Linked DNA regions of Homo sapiens: regions 1, 2, 3 and 5 are each linked to region 4. The links are contacts of gene promoters, found by promoter capture Hi-C in blood cells and fetal thymus (Javierre and others, 2016). All regions are on one chromosome and are shown on one strand. Each heading gives the region's core, a stretch centred on a gene start or on the middle of the fragment in contact. The rest is flanking DNA. Distances are from core to core; before and after follow the strand shown. Region 1 overlaps WDR33 (WD repeat domain 33). Region 2 overlaps WDR33 (WD repeat domain 33). Region 3 overlaps MAP3K2 (mitogen-activated protein kinase kinase kinase 2). Region 4 holds the start of IWS1 (interacts with SUPT6H, CTD assembly factor 1). Region 5 has its middle 11 kb from the start of SFT2D3.

Region 1 (3,467 bases), core at 855-3,354, 250 kb after region 4:
CACTGAATTCATCATGCCTTTCTCCTATACATAAACCTTCAATGTTTCAAGCAATCAGCACAGTTTTATCAAGAGCCTACTTTACATGCATACACTGCCTCAGGTACAGCGCACAATTCTGATTCACTAAATATCACTCCTAATTTCGCAGAACAGTAGTTTTCAGACTTTGTGGTGCCTGGCCCCCTCTCTATTTTTAGCATATATAAAGATCCTGAGTACACAAAAGTTTGCATCGCATCCTTAGCCTTAGGCTTTCAACTGCTCAAGAAAACCAGGAAGGCCAGTCAATTTCTCCATTATTTTCTCAACCTGTAAAATGAGTTCCATGCCTCAAAAATATTATTTTGCATTAAATTTGTATCTTTCAACAATGTGGTGACTATACTATTGAACAGAATGGAACACTCAGACTTAGTGTGTCAATGTTTGTATGCACAAGTCTATACCAACGTTATAATTCTGCTTTTTTGAGACAGGGTCTTGCTGTGTTGCTCAGGATGGAATACAGTGGCACTACCACAGCTCACTGCAGCTCAAGTGATTCTCCTGTCTCAGCCTCCCAAGTATGTGGGACTACACATGTGTGCCACCTGGGCTCAGCTAATTTTTTTCATTTTTTGTAGAGACAGATCTTGCTTTGTTGCCCAGGCTGGTCCAGAACTCCTGAGCTCAAGCGATCCTCCCACCTCAGCCTCTCAAAGTGGTGGGATTATAGGCATAAGCCACTGCACCTGGTCAATTCTGCTTCTTGTCCCAAATGCTCACAAGATAACTTCTTGTATAATCTTAGTCATGTGATGATACTGAAATTATAGCTGAAGATAAAAGTTAAAAATGAGCCGGGTGTGGTGGCTCATGCTTGTAATCCCAAAACTTTGAGAGGCCAAGGCAGGAGGATCTCTTGAGGCCAGGAGTTGGAGACAAGCCTAGGCAGAATAGCAAGACCCCCATCTCTGCAAAAAAATTTTAAAAAATTATTGGCTGGGTGCAGTGGCTCACGCCTGTAATCCCAGCACTTTGGGAGGCCGAGGTGGGTGGGATCACCTGAGGTCAGGAGTTCGAGACCAGCCTGGCCAACATGGCAAAACCCCATCTCTACTAAAAATACAAAAATTAGCTGGGCGTGGTGGCTGACGCCTGTAATCCCAGCTACTCAGGGGACTGAGGCAGGAGAATCGCTTGACCCCAAGAAGCAAAGACTGCAATGAGCCAAGATCATGCCACTGAACTCTAGCCTGGGCAACAGAGCAAGACTCCATCTCAAGAAAAAAAAAAAAAAGAAAAAAGAAACAAACAAAAACAAAAAAACTGATGAGCCCTGACTACCTGCCAGACAATGAACACACACACACACACACATTCTGTTCTCAAGAGTCTGACCGTTTCTCAGTACAGAAGAGCTCAAAAGAACAATGTGAGAAGTTACTACTACACTGAGACACTACTACGCTGTGTGAGAGGCACTATTACAAGGGATATAGCACAGGAAACTTACAGCACCAATCAGCCTTAAGAAGCTTAAATTCTGAGTAAAGTGAGGGAGGCAAGGGCAGGGGGTGTCAGGGGAGAGACACTTGAGAAAAAAAAGTAAATAAAGCTCTCTAATTCACTCAGCATACCAAGGCCAGCATAATTTTTCCCCAACCAAACATAATTCAAAATAATCTTTCACCAACCAAATTTCTGACTACCATTTGAATTATTTTACCATAATAGATCTCCAACTAAAACACATAGGAAAATGACCTAGCTAGCACTCAACTAATTCCTCAGCTTCAATACAAAATGAATTTACTGAATGCTTCATACAAATGAGTAAAAAGAGTTTTAAACTAAGATTCCTGGGGGTAGAGCGAGGCTCTGGCATCAAAAAAATGCTGACATGAAATATCATGAATGAGCCTAAAGCGGTGCTTTTTCTTTAAACCAGAAATCACATCCCATTGATGGTTCCTGAAATCAATGTGGCTGACAAGCAGCATTATTTTAATAATTAAAAAAAAAAAAAATAGGGCCAGGGTGGTGGCTCATGCCTGTAATCCTAGCACTTTGGGAGGCCAAGGCAGATGGATCACTTGAGGTCAGGAGTTCGAGACGAGCCTGGCTAATATGGTGAAACCCCATCTCTACTACATACAAAAATTAGCTAGGTGTGGTGGCGCACACCTGTAGTCCCAGCTACTTGGGAGGCTGGGGCAGGAGAATAGCTTGAAACTCAGAGGCAGAGGTTGCAGGGAGCCAAGATCACGACACTGCACTCTAGCCTGGGCAACAGGGCGAGACTCCGTTTCAAAAAAAAAGTTAAAAAAAATAGAACATATGATAGAACTGCGCATTTGAAAGAACTGTTTTTGTGCAACTACTGTTTCTATTGTGTTTGTGTGTATGCATACAGGGTCACAATATTTACAAAGTATTTTCTTCCTAGGAATCTGTCAATTGAAAGCCAAGGGCTTGCTGTTAGTAACACTGTGAGGTATTCCCTTCCTGTGTATTTTCTGTTTATTATCACCTAATGTCTGCTGCCACTGCATATCCATAGCCAAAGAAGATCACATATAGCATCTGTCCAGTATGAATACTGTGGCTGATCACAGTAGCTATGGTACCAGAATTTGATCCAATTATCAAATCCAACAATTCCTACCATGTCAGCCACTAATCAGAGCTTCCAATCAGAACAAGAAAGCTTGTTTTCCCAAACTGAGATAACAGAATTCTAACCAAAAGCAAATTATTGATGCATTAACTAGCTAGCAATTCATATAGGACTTTTAAAAATAATAAAAAGGTTTTTTTGATTTTTTTTTTTTTTTTGAGACGGAGTCTCGCTCTGTCGCCCAGGCTAGAGTGCAGTGGTGCGATCTCGGCTCACTGCAAGCTCCGCCTCCCGGGTTCACGCCATTCTCCTGCCTCAGCCTCTCGAGTAGCTGGGAATACAGGCCCCCGCCACCACGCCCAGCTAATTTTTTGTACTTTTAGTAGAGACGGGGTTTCACCGTGTTAGCCAGGATGGTCTCGATCTCCTGACCTCGTGATCCGCCCACCTCGGCCTCCCAAAGTGTAAAAATAATAAAAAGTTTTAAGATTCCCACCTCCATTAACACTCCTGACCCCAGGGTCAAAACCTCAGCCTGGAAACCTGTTTTAGATTATTTATGTATAGTCCACTAGGTTCTAAGATAATCAATCTACTCTAAAAGAAATTTGATACCCAATCTGTCATTGAACTTTGAGGGGATCTTCATGAGCGGCAGGCTAGACCAGTAACAAAATGATCAACATGCTCTTTCTCTTCATTGTCCAACTTTAATTAATATGAATCCTGAAAAATCAGGAGAAATTACATGGAGACCATTCAATCTGTTAAAGAATAATCAATGAAGCTGTTTAAATAAGTAGGTTTTGGCCAGGCACAGAGGCTCATGACTGTAACCCCAGCATTTTGGGTGGCCAAGGTGGGA
Region 2 (3,431 bases), core at 537-3,036, 220 kb after region 4:
AATATTTCTAACAATGAAGTATCTGATTTTGATCCAACTTAAAATGACTATTAAAAATGTCCAAATAAACAGCTCATACCACAGACATACCACTTTATGGGCTTCATATTTTTTCAAGATATTGTAAACCTACCAAAAAGTACAAGTGGAAAGAATGCTCCAAGTCTGTAGAGTAACTCGGTATGTCTTACACTCATCCAACATGAATTTACCTAACTAGAACTCAAAAAACAGCACGTCGTTCTCCAGAAAGATTCAAATATATTATCTATTCAAAAAACAATCTGTGGCTGGGCATGGTGGCAAGCTCCTGTAGTCCCAGCTACTCAGGAGGCTGAGGCAGGAGAATTACTTGAGCCCTGGAGTTCAAGGTTGCAGTGAACTATGATCATACCATTGCATGCCAGCCTGGGAGACAGAGCGAGACTCTGTCTCTAAAACATAAAATAATTAAAAAAAAAAAAAAAAAAAGGTAAGCAAGCAAAGGCAATGAAGAGAACAACTCTAATGCAGGGTGTGAAGGATTGCCTTCTGGCACTCCTGTGGTTCTGAGATGATAGTGGAAATAAAATATGAGGACTTACATAAATAAAGCTTTAAAAAGAAGTCATAGTTCTATTTCAATATAATGTTATCTATTTAAATGTGGCTTACAACTTTATCAATCACACTTCTAAACCTAAAAATCACTACTGAAAAGATAATCATATTCCAATACTAATTTTTGATCCAATAATCTCCTCCCATAAATACCTTTCCTTAATACCTTTAATACCTCTCTTTTAATACCTTTCCTACTCAATTCCAATCTCCTCTTAAATCAAATTAAGTAAAATATGTTATTTTCTTTACTCCTATCTTGTCTTTTAGCATCTTTCCTTGATATTTATGACTTTAGCAACAAACATTTGCTTCATCCTGCACTGTGCAGAGTATGTCTGTGGTCCTCACAACAGCCCTGTGAGGTAGGTATCATTAGCTCTCCTTTACAGACGAGGAGAGGCAAGCTGAGAAAGACTTGACTTGCCCAGTGGCAAAGCGGGGATTCAAAGCCAAACTTGCTGACTCTCAGCTGAGTGATGTTTAAAGTTCCCCAGAGGAAATACGGAGATTGTGCCAAGCAGAAACTACCACTGTAACTAGAATTTTGGAGCAGCTAAAGAGGAGGTTTAACAACATTAATAATTTCTTCTTTGTCACTTAACCACTGTAAACAGTAATTACACTATATTCTTCTATCATTACATTTTAAAGTTAACAATACACAATAGTTACCCTTCTTTTTATAGAAAAAATACTTATTACAAATAGACTTGCACTCATCATTGCCTATGAAAAGACACAGTAAACTGGTACTATTCAGCATCAATTCTGGTAAATGGATGTTATTTAAAAAAATGTAAATATACGATTATAGAAGATGATCAAAACCAGTGAATTTTGTGGAGATCACCAAAGTGAGTTTCGCCCAAACAGATTTAGTTTCAAAATACAAAGCCTTATTTTCAAGGCACTTTAACCAAGAGAATACACCACAAATCTATGTGTCTAAATTATATGAAAATTAATTCTGGCATCTACACAATTTAGACACAGGCACAAATGGTATTTATCTACCAATCCTGAAATCTGTGGTAACTCTGGAATATGCTGTTTTTTCCATACGAAATTATGTACTGTACCTAATAAATAAAATACAAACAACAGTTTAACATACAGTGTTTAAAACCTAAAATGAACAAATATTTCTGTGTGAAATAGTCTTTAGGAGAAAAATCTTATTCTGAAAACATTTTATCCTCAGTTTGGTCCAAATCAACAATATTTTAGGGCTACCGCTGCTCTACCGAAAAAAAAAAAAAAGTAAAAACTTTTACAATCTAAAACCTTTATTTAAAGATTTTGAGGTTCCCATGAGCACTCAACGTTAGCATAAAAGCAACTATGAAGATTTCAATGATGATACATGATGACATTCTCTATTTCTATGGGAAAATTCTATACGCCAGTGGCAAAACTAGTGGTACTATCTGAAGAGGCTGCTTTTGCCTATAATGTATCCTGCTTGTCTAATGCTGGTTAACATGCCACCAAATTCTCCCCAATTGCTCCGTTTTGTAAAAACATACTGCTGGCATCATTTCAGCTGGTTCCAACCTGTGCCTGCCGAGCATGTCGCTGCTACTAAATCCTGACCTCAAGTCTGTCTGGATTTCAATATGTTCAAGAAAGTAAAAAGCAGCAGCCCCTGACCTCTGAGAACTAATCTGATGTTCAAGCTAAGCCTTGGTGTTACTACAAACTGTTCTGACATGTACAGCTTAAACATTCCACGCTCCTGTTGGACAATCTCACTGAACGTCAATATCAAAAGTAGTCACTCCAAGACCATGGCAAAGTGAGAAAAAACTAGGTCACTGTACAACCCACAAAATACAAAATTCTCTTTCTTGCTGAATGAGTGACAGCTATTTCTTCACCAATTACAGCTTTAACCTCAATCTACTTGACCCCCTCTATAAGATCTGTTGATACCCAATCATAGAATTGCCTCTGTTTTCCGACAGCACCCTATCTAGAGCAAGCCCTCATGTCCTTAGACCTTCCCCCCAAAATTATCCAAAGCCCAAATCCTATAATACATTATAACACCCTGTTACTAGGACACCCCATGGTTCCCTGCGGTCTGTGTTCTTTGCTGCAATGAGCAATAAATCCAACCTGCTCTATGACAGGTGTACTCCTAGTGGTCTTTAACTGAAGGGTATTCACACTTGTAAATACTAACAGTGAAATGAAAATAGACTAAATGTTCTAGGCTTAGAAAATGACTCTAAAACTATAATTCACAGGGAGGGCAGCTTTGGATGATGCTGGTGTAAGATTTCTTCAGTTTTGCTTTTAATGTCAAGACCATGGTAAAATGTTTTAAATGGCTCAGGTAAAGTAAAAAGCATTAAAAACTGTTAAAGCAGAGGAGAAGCTTTTACAGCCAAATTGATCAAGAGAATAAGCAGGAGTTAATCAAGGATCATTTCAATTGGCGGCAGCACATCCAAGTATCTGGGTTATGTCTAGATTTAGAGGTACTTTAAACAAGGGATGCAGGAAAATGCTCATCAACAATAAAGCTGAAGCTATAAGGAAAACATGAAAGTGAGTAATATCTTTTTTCCTGAGACAGGGTCTCATTCTGTCACCCAGGCCTGGGTGCAGTGGTGCATGGCTCATTACTGTCTCGATCTCCTGGGCTCAAGTGATCCTCCTAACAGGGCCTCCTAGGTAGCTGAAACTTAAAAAAAAAAAAAAAAAAAAAAGTGCTCACCTTAACTACTGGAATTATCTGGATAGTATGTTAGCTGTGAGAAGAAAATAAAGCAAGATTTTCATATGCACTCTTTTGATGAAAGATTTTTAAAATTTCTATAAGT
Region 3 (3,528 bases), core at 875-3,374, 190 kb before region 4:
CCTAAGTCCTATAATTCTTACTGAAAAAAATATCCCAAATCATACCTGTGTACTTCCATTTATTACAAGTAATATCTTGAGGCTCTTCATATGAATACTACGATCCAGCAGTTCCACAGCTTTGTCCAAGTCATCTTGAGTAGTTAATGGAATTACCAACTAAAAACAAACATAAGGAACCATGCAGCTATCTCACCAGGTCAAGTTCTTCCATGAGCATCTCCACTACTAAGGAATTACAAATGTCAAAATACCTTGCTCTTTGATTTGTTACTATGATGAAAGTCTGAATGTGTATGTGTATATTGTTTTGCCCTCCTCATTCTACCGCCACTAAAATCTTAGAATGAACATGTATGTTTTTAAATTTTTCTTTATTAATCATTACATTCTTCTAGAAAATAACATTTAAAGATTAATTTTCTAGGATATTTCCATAATATTGCTAAATTTAAGTTATAGTATGTTCGCCCCTAAAAAGAATGAAGAAGTACAGACAAAGACCATATGAAATAAAGGTACTACTTTTCTTCTGTATAGATGAAACTCAGTTCTTTTTTCAATAGTAACCACAAATTTGCACTCTCAGCTGGTGTGCTCTTCAACATACCAACATCCTGAGCACCTGCCATGGAGGACAGCTGCCATGGAGGGGTACCACTAGTAACATATCTGCAATCTACAGCCCACCTAGAGTTCTTCTCTCTGAGCCTAGTGACCTGACCACTATACCCTAAAACAAATAAGCTAATGAGTTAACTATTCCATAGTAAACCCTGCATGTGGAATCTGCTTTCACTAGTCTTCTCATGCAGCAGATGTTATAGAGGACAAAAGCACCTAAGAGGTCTATGAGAAAAAGTGTAATTCATACAATTTAAGAAATAAAAATATGTCCTTTTTTTAAAAAAAAAGTCAATTTAGTAACTTAAGAAGACTCTGTCAATAACTTCAAAGTATATTCCATTTCATTGAAGGAGGAACAGAATAAAAACAAGTGAACATATTCTGCACTAGTTAACCTGCTCTACTCAGCACAATATATGAGCCATTAAAATGCAAGGCTGAATTAATTTGGGGTCTCTACAGTATAAATTCTTTGAAGACAAGGACCCCCTACACCAGCAATGAGCAAAGAGCAGACAACCTGGTAAATGCTGTCTAATAAATCTCACAGTGTTAAAAGCTCAATCTGAACCCAAACCCACTAGCTGGCATGGTGTATGTTCATTCTGCAGACTTCTTTGTGAAAAAAGTCCTTGGGGTTTTTGATTTTTTGTTTTGAAATGGAGTCTCACTGTCATTCAGGCTGGAGTACAGTGGCAATCTCAGCTCACTGCAATCTGCCTCCTGGTTTCAAGTGATTCTCCTGCCTCAGCCTCCCCAGTAGCTGGGTTTACAGGCATGCACCACCACGCGTGGCTAATTTTTGTATTTTTAGCAGAGACAGGGTTTCAACATGTTGACCAGGCTGGTCTCAAACTCCTGACCTCAAATTATCTGCCCGCCTGGGCCTTCCAAAGTGCTGGGATTACAGGCGTGAGCCACCATGCCCAGCCAAAAAAGTCCTTGTTATAAGAAAGGCTGCCAAACACGAATATAAAGAAGGATTTATGTGAATTCCATCAGACAATCTGCTTGCATTTACTTACTCTGTTGTTAAAATATATTCCCAATTTCTGTTTGTAGCTAATTTTGTATTACTGTAAGGGACCGACTAACTGGGCTCTTTTCGCTCTATGAGAATTTTTTTCTAATAAAATACAATTATTAACTGTTTGGTATCATAGAACAAGCCTGATCTACTGATCTACTTAAACACATTTCTATTTCCCACCAATTATGAAACATATTGGTATATCTTGCTTCTATCTTCAATAGTCTATTACTTTTCAAGCACTGGAAAACATTTTAAAGCAATGGTAATGACTGTTCCGCCGATTTTTCATTTGAGGGGAAAATCTGAATACTTACTTTTATTATTCATTTATAACTGGATTGTTTACTTCTCCAAGATACTGCTACTTTTGGGGGAAAACAACACTAAGTCAAATGACAGAAAAAAATATGAACATAAATGATTCTGCTGCTCTTCAGTTTGCTGCTGTAAAATGTGAACATCCTGGAGGGGTGCCTGGTGCAGCAGCTTAGGCACTTGCCTACAGACCTAATGTGATCCTGCCTGTGTTCTAAGGTTACCTATTACAAACCGTAAAATGAGGACTAAGAGTCATGAACAAGTCCCAGGTTATCTACATTACACTAAATAAATCAGATAATGTTTTCTGGCTTGGTGAATTCATTTCAGTCTCATTCATGAAATCTATCACCCTCTGGCTTATTTTTGATAAATCAGTTGTTTGTTGATATAAATGCTTTCTAGAAAGGAAACTTAAAATTGAGTTCGAGAACCATTAAACAGAACTGAAATCTGAAAGAACTGAATTATCTTCCTGAATTTACATAGTGAAGTATGAAGACAGCCATTAAAAGGTTCTCCAGGCTGGACGCAGTGGCTCACACCTGTAATCTCAGCACTTTGGGAGGCTGAGGTATGCGGGTCGCTTGAGCCCTGGAGTTTGAGACCAGCCTGGGCAACATGGTGAAACCACATCTCTAGAAAAAATACAAAAATTAACAAGGTATGGTAGTGCATGCCTGTAGTCCCAGCTACTTAGAAGGCTGAGTGGGGAGAGGATTGATTGAGCCAGGGAGGTCAAGGCTCCAGTAAGCCATGACTGTGCCTCTGTACTACAGCCTGGGTGACAGCGGGAGATGCTGTCTCAAAAAAAAAAAAAAAAAATTCCTGCTCTACTCATCTAAAATGGAAGTGATCTTAGAAAATCCTTACTTGGCTTGAACACCTCCACATCCAACCCCCATGACACACACACACATGCACCCTGAACACCTCCACAACCAACCCTCATAACACACACACACACACACACACACACACCCCTTATTAAAGAGAAGCCAAACTAACAAATCCAAACAACCTCAGCTTATATTTCCAGCTTAAATTTCCTTAACGTTTCAATTCTAGCCAACTAGAAGTTTATAGAGTAACAGTTCATTTTGAACAGAGGAATTAATATTACACTAGAAAAATATTTATAGAAGTGGAATAACATGCAGTATAAATGAATTTTTTGCCTGACCACATGTCCACAAAACTAGTAAGACTTTCTTTAGTACCCCCAGTGTCCAAGATCATGCATTTGGTTTGGGACAATATGTCAAGATATGAAACAGGATACGGTTCACTCACAGAATCTCAGGGTTGCAAGAAATCTTAAATGTAATCTTATCCTAATGCCACCCCTACCACATTCCTGCCAAGAGGCCACCAAAATATAATGGTAGAACCACTCACAGAAATCCTTCAGAAAGCATGAGAAAAATAAACTAAAATGGAGCAGTTTTCCAATTTTTAGAAAATGGGAAAAGGTTCTTAAAAATACAGATCAGGCCAGGCGCGGTGGCTCATACCTGTAATCCCAGCACTTTGGGAGGCCAAGGCAGGTG
Region 4 (3,521 bases), core at 403-2,902:
GGAAAAAAAACTATTCTGAAAGTATCAGGAAAGTGTTTTTTTGTTTTTGTTTTTGTTTTTGTTTTTTTTGAGACAGAGTCTTGCTCTGTCGCCCAGGCTTGGAGTGCAGTGGTGCAACTTCCGCTCACTGCAACCTCTGCCTCCCGGGCTCAGGGCTCAAAGGATCCTCCCACTTCAGCCTCCTGAGTAACTGGGACTACAGGTGTATGCCACCACACTCGGCTAATTTTTGCATTTTTTTGTAGAGACGAAGTAGGGGGGTGGGGTAGGGGCGTAGGGGGGTGGGGTACGGGCATGGGGGGTGGGGGTGGTGTTGGTCTCACTATGTTGCCCAGGCTGGTCTCGAACTCCTGGGCTCAAGCCATCGGCCGCCTACGCCTCCCAAAGTGCTGGGATTACAGGCATAATCCACCGCACCTGGCTTAGGAAAGTGTTTTTAAGCAGTGCATGCCTGGAAAACGCTTTGCAGTCATTAGAATTCACTGTCCTACGTAAGGAAAAGCAATGAACTCAAAACAGTAAAGGGCTTAACGCTTAAACAATTATTTAAGCACTCAAGTTTTCTTTTTAATTTTCAATTTTTGTGGGTACATAGAGGGTGTATTTATTTATGGTGTATTTAAGAACTTTTGTAACAGAACGCCCCAACAGGACTAGCACACAAAGGGAAAGCAAATGCGACGTGTTTCCCACACCAGGTTCTGCCTCACTTATCCTTAATCTCAGGTGCCAAGCACCGTGCCAGCAGAGTGGGCCCCAGTAACAGCTTACAGAATAAACAAACAGTAAAGAAAGGAGACCAAACTTCGGTGAGGAGGAAGAGGAACGATCTCAAGGTGGAGGAAAGGCACAAAAACCACCAGTAAGTGCCAGAAGCGCATTCCTTACTCTATGCATGCAACTGAAACATGGGTCCTGCACTTACGTCCGGTGTTGCAAGCAAGATTAAACCACTCCTAACTAGCAGTGAAAAGTCTAGGAAGGATCCCCCGCCCCAACGCCCCTTGGATTCTCCAACTACTCAACTACTGAAAACTCTCTTAACAGAAGACACCTCTCCTTCCCTGCACACAATAGGAGCTTAACATATGAAAGTGACTTCCCAATTTCAGCAAAAACCTTCGCCGATTCAGAAGAAAGCTTTCCCACCAGAATCCCCTCTCCAACGTTCTAGCTTCGACGCTTGCAGCTGGTCAGAGGGCTCTTGCCCTCCTCGGGCCGGGTCGCGGGAGGGAAGGTTTCGGGGGGCCTCCTTGCCCCCACCCGCGGGGTGCCAGGCCAAGCCCCGCCGAGTAACTGCTCCGCCTCCCAGCCCGGTCCCCCAGGTCCCTGCCCCACCTGACTGGTCGCCGCTGTAATATTCCGAGTCCATGGCAGGCGGACTCTCAGCGGGGAGTGTCCGCGCCCCGCGCCGCCCCCGTCACCTCCTTCCAGGCGGTGTGACCCCGGATGGCGCGGCTAAGTGTTCAGAGACTGCCGCCCGACCGGAGAACTTAACGGGTGCGGAGGGTAAGAAAGCGGTAGCGGCAAAGGCGAATTCTTTGACCTGGAAGCCCCGGCGGAAAAGGCCGTACCCGGCAGGCTGGCGGGCGGGCAGGCATGCGAGCCGGCGTTCTACTTCCTAGAAGCACCGCTGGGGCCAAAATGGCGTCTGCCCACGACCCTCAAAGGAATGCAGCGCGCAGGCGCCGCAACCCGTCAACCGGCCAATGAGAAGACGCAACAGCAATGACGCCAGGCACGGCCGGAAAGGAGACTCCTGGGAAAATTGAGCTGGAACTCGGGCTTTAGTTAAATACCTTCCTCGGGTGGATCCTGGTCTGACCCCCGTGGTAATAACGTTATCATTGATTCTTTATCATTTCCTAGATTCTGTGTCCGTGCCTTGTTTGAAGAGCTTTTGAGATACTCTTCCGAAAAATGAAGACCTGCTCAAATGACTTTTCCGTCATTCAGCCAAACCACTGTCTTTCCCGTCAGGCCCAGAGGCGCCTGGTTCCCGCCCGCAGTAGGCAAGAAAGCGGGCGTTGCTCACTGGGACTTGTAGTATGACGCCCGCGAGCTGTGATGCGTTACTAACTGGCGCGATCCACAGCGCCTCCTCTCCCGGCGTCTTCCTCTCTTTCATTCTAAACAACGATTTAATTTCCTTGTTAAGAAGCCATTTAGCCAACAGTAAGAAGTACACGTCTTTGCTTCCAGAAGGGTTCCCCTGATGAAACACCGGAGGAAGGTGAAGTTGAACTTTACCTGAGCCCTGTGTTCCTGGAAAACAGCGGTGATTAAGAAACCCCCTCATCTATTTGTGTTTCTGGAACGGCACACTGTAAAGAACCACCCGTCTCCATGTGACTCAGATAAAACGCGTGCAGATGACCCCCTTGTTTGCCTGTGACAAGGCCAGAGACCTTTCCCCTTTATTCTGAGCCTGTTAATAAAGCCAAACAGACCTTCCAAATTCCCGCTGATGATATCGAGTGATTAGTTGAGATTAGAACTCTCCTCCCCCCAACTTGTTAGACACAGAGAACATTTCCTGTTCACCTGACTGAAACTTCTCCTGATTGCAAAACAATCCCAACTGTCAATCATCCCACCTTCCTCCCTATAAAAGTCAAAACTACGCTGCCAAGACACTGATCATATCTGGAGTGCTCTCCCTATTGCAATAGGCTGAGTAAAATCCATTTCCTTACTTGTTCATTTTAGTCTTGGACAGAGAGGGGAACATTCTTGCCTTTGGATCGGAGGAGGGCCAGTAGAGGTTTAAGCAAAGACTCCCCAGGAGGTGTAGACATGTAGAAAAAGAGCCTTTTGTTACTACTGCAGATATCTGACCCTTCGTTAGCCAGTCAGAGTATGCTGGCAGAGCCCAATTATAGGCTCCTGAAGAGGACGTGGGAAGAGAAGAAAGGGGAGAAGTGGTTTCTCTCTGGAAATTCCCATTTTCCTGCAAGAGAGTTCATGGATATTCCTTTCCGAAGTGGTGGAAACAGCATTGAATCCAAATTCCTTCTTTTCAGCTGTGGGAATGACATCTTCTCAGGCAGTCTTGAGAATCAAAAGAACAAAGAATTAGCAATGCCCGAAACCGAATCACTTGATAGAAGATATCAAGGCTCTAAGCCCTCTTCTAAAGAGAAGGTGAGAGTACACCTGTGTAAATGGAGCAGGATTAATAGATCAAAATTCCAGGCGGAGGTTCAGTGGAAGAGAACCTTTTAGTTTCACCAGAGATGTAAGTCCAACAGTCAGGAAAGTGGTTGGGTTATAAACAATGCAATTGCCGGATGAAAATTACTGAATTTTAGCGTTAAAACTAACTGTACTGGTGGTTTGGAGAAAGGATAGAAACACTCTGGACACACAACAATGTTCTTAGCTCTAGAAGCCTGCAAAGAAGCATCAGATCTAATTTTTGTACTCAGAAAGCCAACAATTTAGTGAGACAGGACAAGTCTTTCAAATGAATACAGAGCCTTAGTTAAAGCAGTGTGGTTGTCAGTGTAAACACAGCTTAC
Region 5 (3,259 bases), core at 134-2,633, 160 kb after region 4:
TTTTTCATGTGGATTCAAATTAGTTTCTGGTGTCACTTGCTTTCTATCTGAAAAACCTTAAATATTTCTTGTTACTCAGGACTGGTAGCAATAAATTCAGTCAGATTTTATTTATTTTGGAGTGCTTTTTATTTTGCCATTATTGTTGAAAGATAGTTTTGTTGGGTATGGAATTATTGGTTAACAGGTTTTTTGTTGTTGTTTTGTTTTTACTGTTAAGCACTTTGAACATGTCATACCACGGCTTTCTAGCCCCCATTGCTTCTGATGAGACATCATTTGTCAATATTATTGTACTACTGGTACACAATGAATTGTATTCCTTTTGCTGCATTTAAGATTTTATCTTTATCTTTGGCTTTCAAAATTTGACTATAATATGTCTGAGTGTGAATGCCTTTGTGTTCATCCTACTTGAAATTCATTGTTTCTCAGATGTTTAGAATAATGTTTTTCATCAAAGTTGGGGAAATTGGTCAGGCACAGTGGCTCTTGCCTTTAGGTGATGAGTAAGCTCAGGACTTTAGGAGGCTGAAGTGGGATGATCATTTGAGGCTAGGAGTTCAAGACCAGCCTAGGAAATACAGCAAGACCCTGTCTTTACAAAAAACTTGAAAATTAGCTGAGCATTGGGGTGCATGCCTGTAGTCCTAGCTACTTGGGAGGTTGAGGCAGGAAGAATGCTTGAGCCCAGGGAGTCAAAGTTAGAGTGAGCTATGCTTGTGCCACTGCCTTCCAGGCTGGGTGACAGAGCAAGACTCTTTCTATAAACATGATAATATTAATAAATTTTAAATAAATAAGCAAATAATTTGGGGAAATTTTCAGCCATTGTGCCTTCTAATAATTTTTATGTCCCTTTCTCTCACTTCTCTCCATTATTCTTATGTGTATTAGTCCATTTTTACATTGCTATAAAGAAATACCTGAGACTGGGTAATTTATAAAGAAAGGAGATTTAATTGGCTCACAGTTCTGCAGGCTGTACAGGAAGTGTGGCAGCATCTGCTTGGCTTCTGGGGAGGCCTTAGGAAACTTATACTCATGGCAGAAGGTGAAGGAGAAACAGGCACATCTTACATGGCCAGAGCAGAAGGAAAAGAGAAGGAGCAGGGAGGTGCTACTTTTTTTTTTTTTTTTGAGCTGGAGTCTCACTCTGGCCTAGGCTGGAGTGCAGTGGTGCAATCTCTGCTCACTGCAACCTCTGCCTCCCAGGTTCAAGTAATTCTCCTGCCTCAGCCTTCCAAGTAGCTGGGATTACAGGCACCCACCACCATACTCAACTAATTTTTGTGTTTTTAGTAAAGACAGGGTTTCACCATGTTGGCCAGGCTGGTCTTGAACTCCTGGCCTCAGGTGATCTGCCCCCCCTTAGCCCCCCAAAGTGCTGGGATTACAGGTGTGAGTCACTGTGCCTGGCCCAGACTTGTAAATGACCAGATTTTATGAGAACTCACTATTATGACTAAGGAGGATGGTGCTAAACCACTGGAAACTGCCCCCATGATCCAGTCACCTCCCACCAGGCCCCACCTCTAACACTGGGAATTATAATTTAACACGAGATTTGGGTGGGGACACAAACCATATCATTTTGCCGCCGGCCCCTCCCAAATCTCATGTCCTTCTGATATTTCAAAATATAATCATGCAGTCTCACAAAGTGTTAACTTATTCCAGCATTAACTCAAAAGTCCAAAATCTCATCTGAGACAAGGCAAGTTCCTTCCACCTATGAGCCTGTAAAATCAAAAACAAGTTAGTTACTTCCAATGGGGGTACAGTCATTGGTTAAATACTCCCATTCCAAAAGGGAGAAATCAGCCAAAAGAAAGGGGCTTCAGGCCCCATGCAAGTTCAAAACCCAGCAGGGTAGTCGTTCAATCTTAAAGGTCCAAAATAATCTCATTTGACACCATGCCCCACATCCAGGGGACACTAGTGTGAGAGCTGGGCTCCCAAGGCCTTGGGAAGCTCTCCCCCTGTGGCTTTGCAGGGTTCAGCCCACATGGCTGCTCTCAAGGGATGGTCTTGAGTGCCTGTGGCTTTTCCAGGTGCAGGATGCAAGCAGCCAGTGGATCTACCATTCTGAGGTCTGGAAGACAGAGGTCCTCATCTCACAGCTCCACTAGGTAGTCCCCCAGTGGGGAGTCTGTGTGGGGGCTCCAACCCCACATTTCCACACTGCCTTAGTAGAGGTTCTGTATGAGGGCTTTGCCCCTGCAGCAGGTTTCTGCCTGAACATCCAGGCATTTCCATACATCCTCTGAAATTTAGGCAGAGGCTCCCAAGCCTAAACTCTTGCATTCTGTGCACCTGCAGGCTTAACACCACATGAAAGTTGCCAAGTTTAATGGCTTGCACCCTCTGAAACAGTGGCCAGGGCCCCTTTCAGCCAGCTGGAGCTGGAGCAGCTGGGATGCAGGGAGTAGAGTCTCAAGGCTGTGCAGGGCAGCAGGGCCCTGGGCCTGACCTAGAAAACCATTCAGTCCTCTGAAGCATCCAGGCCTGTGCTGGGAGGGGCTGCCACGAAGGTCTCTGAAATGCCTTCTAGACCTTTTCCCCATTGTCTTGGCTATTAGCACTTGGGCTCCTCTTTACTTATGCAAATTTCTGCAGCCTGCTTGAATTCCTCCCCCGAAAATTAGCTTTTCTTTTCTACCACATGGCCAGGCTACAAATTTTCCAAACTTTTACACTCTGCTTCCCTTTTAAATATAAGTTCCAGGTTCAGGTCATTTCTTTGCTCACACATATGAGCGTAGGTTGTTAGAAGCAGCCAGGCCAATCCGTAAACACTTTGCAGCTTAAAAATTTCTTCCACCAGATACCCTAAATCATCACTCTCAAGTTCAGAGTGCCACAGATCCCTAGGGCAGGGGCACAACACCACCAGGTTCTGTTGCGAATATGTAACAAAGGTTATCTTTGCTCCAGTTCCCATTAAGTTCCTTATTTCCATCTGAGACCTCCTCACCCTGGCCTTCACTATCCATATTACTATCAGCATTTTGGTCACAACCATTTAACCAGTCCGTAGGGAGTTCCAAATTTCCCCTCATCTTCCTGTCTTCTTCTGAGCCCTCCAAACTCTTCCAACCTCTGCTCATTACCCAGTTCCAAAGTCACTTCCACATTTTCAGGTATTTTTATAGCAATGTCCCACTCCTCAGTACCAATTTTCTATATTAGTCCATTCTTGCATAGCTATAAAGAAATTCCAGAGACTGGGTAATTTATAAAGAAGAGAGGTTTAATT

The links. The method cuts DNA at HindIII sites, captures the fragments that hold promoters and counts their contacts. A CHiCAGO score of 5 or more calls a contact.
Region 1: a fragment that was not itself captured here is called in contact with the fragment with the promoter of IWS1 in region 4 in 1 of 17 cell types (naive B cells); the score reaches 5.4 in naive B cells.
Region 2: a contact is called between a fragment that was not itself captured here and the fragment with the promoter of IWS1 in region 4, in 1 of 17 cell types (total B cells). The highest score is 8.6, in total B cells.
Region 3: a fragment that was not itself captured here is called in contact with the fragment with the promoter of IWS1 in region 4 in 1 of 17 cell types (neutrophils); the score reaches 5.0 in neutrophils.
Region 5: a contact is called between a fragment that was not itself captured here and the fragment with the promoter of IWS1 in region 4, in 8 of 17 cell types (total B cells, naive B cells, endothelial precursors and 5 more). The highest score is 9.8, in total B cells.

What each region holds. Positions count from the first base shown.
Region 1 is chr2:127,777,172-127,780,638 of GRCh38, forward strand. The region is part of intron 1 of WDR33 (WD repeat domain 33); the gene reads right to left. Among named protein-coding and RNA genes, the nearest start is that of WDR33, 32 kb to the right of the region's middle. RefSeq lists a silencer at 1-110. The HindIII fragment of the contact is 1,172 bases long and covers 1,519-2,690 here.
Region 2 is chr2:127,745,590-127,749,020 of GRCh38, forward strand. All of the region lies in intron 7 of WDR33 (WD repeat domain 33), which reads right to left. Among named protein-coding and RNA genes, the nearest start is that of SFT2D3, 46 kb to the left of the region's middle. The HindIII fragment of the contact is 2,389 bases long and covers 593-2,981 here.
Region 3 is chr2:127,330,347-127,333,874 of GRCh38, forward strand. MAP3K2 (mitogen-activated protein kinase kinase kinase 2) reads right to left here. Exons shown (of 17, transcript NM_001371910.2): 6 at 46-159. Among named protein-coding and RNA genes, the nearest start is that of ERCC3, 38 kb to the left of the region's middle. The HindIII fragment of the contact is 8,106 bases long and covers 1-3,528 here.
Region 4 is chr2:127,524,837-127,528,357 of GRCh38, forward strand. IWS1 (interacts with SUPT6H, CTD assembly factor 1) reads right to left here and starts at 1,653. Exons shown (of 14, transcript NM_017969.3): 1 at 1,339-1,653. The coding sequence starts at 1,372. RefSeq lists enhancers at 863-1,562, 893-972, 983-1,042, 1,573-1,632, 1,893-1,942 and 1 more and silencers at 1,223-1,332, 1,974-2,147. The HindIII fragment of the contact is 4,097 bases long and covers 1,139-3,521 here.
Region 5 is chr2:127,688,416-127,691,674 of GRCh38, forward strand. No RefSeq gene overlaps it. Among named protein-coding and RNA genes, the nearest start is that of SFT2D3, 11 kb to the right of the region's middle. The HindIII fragment of the contact is 6,533 bases long and covers 1-3,259 here.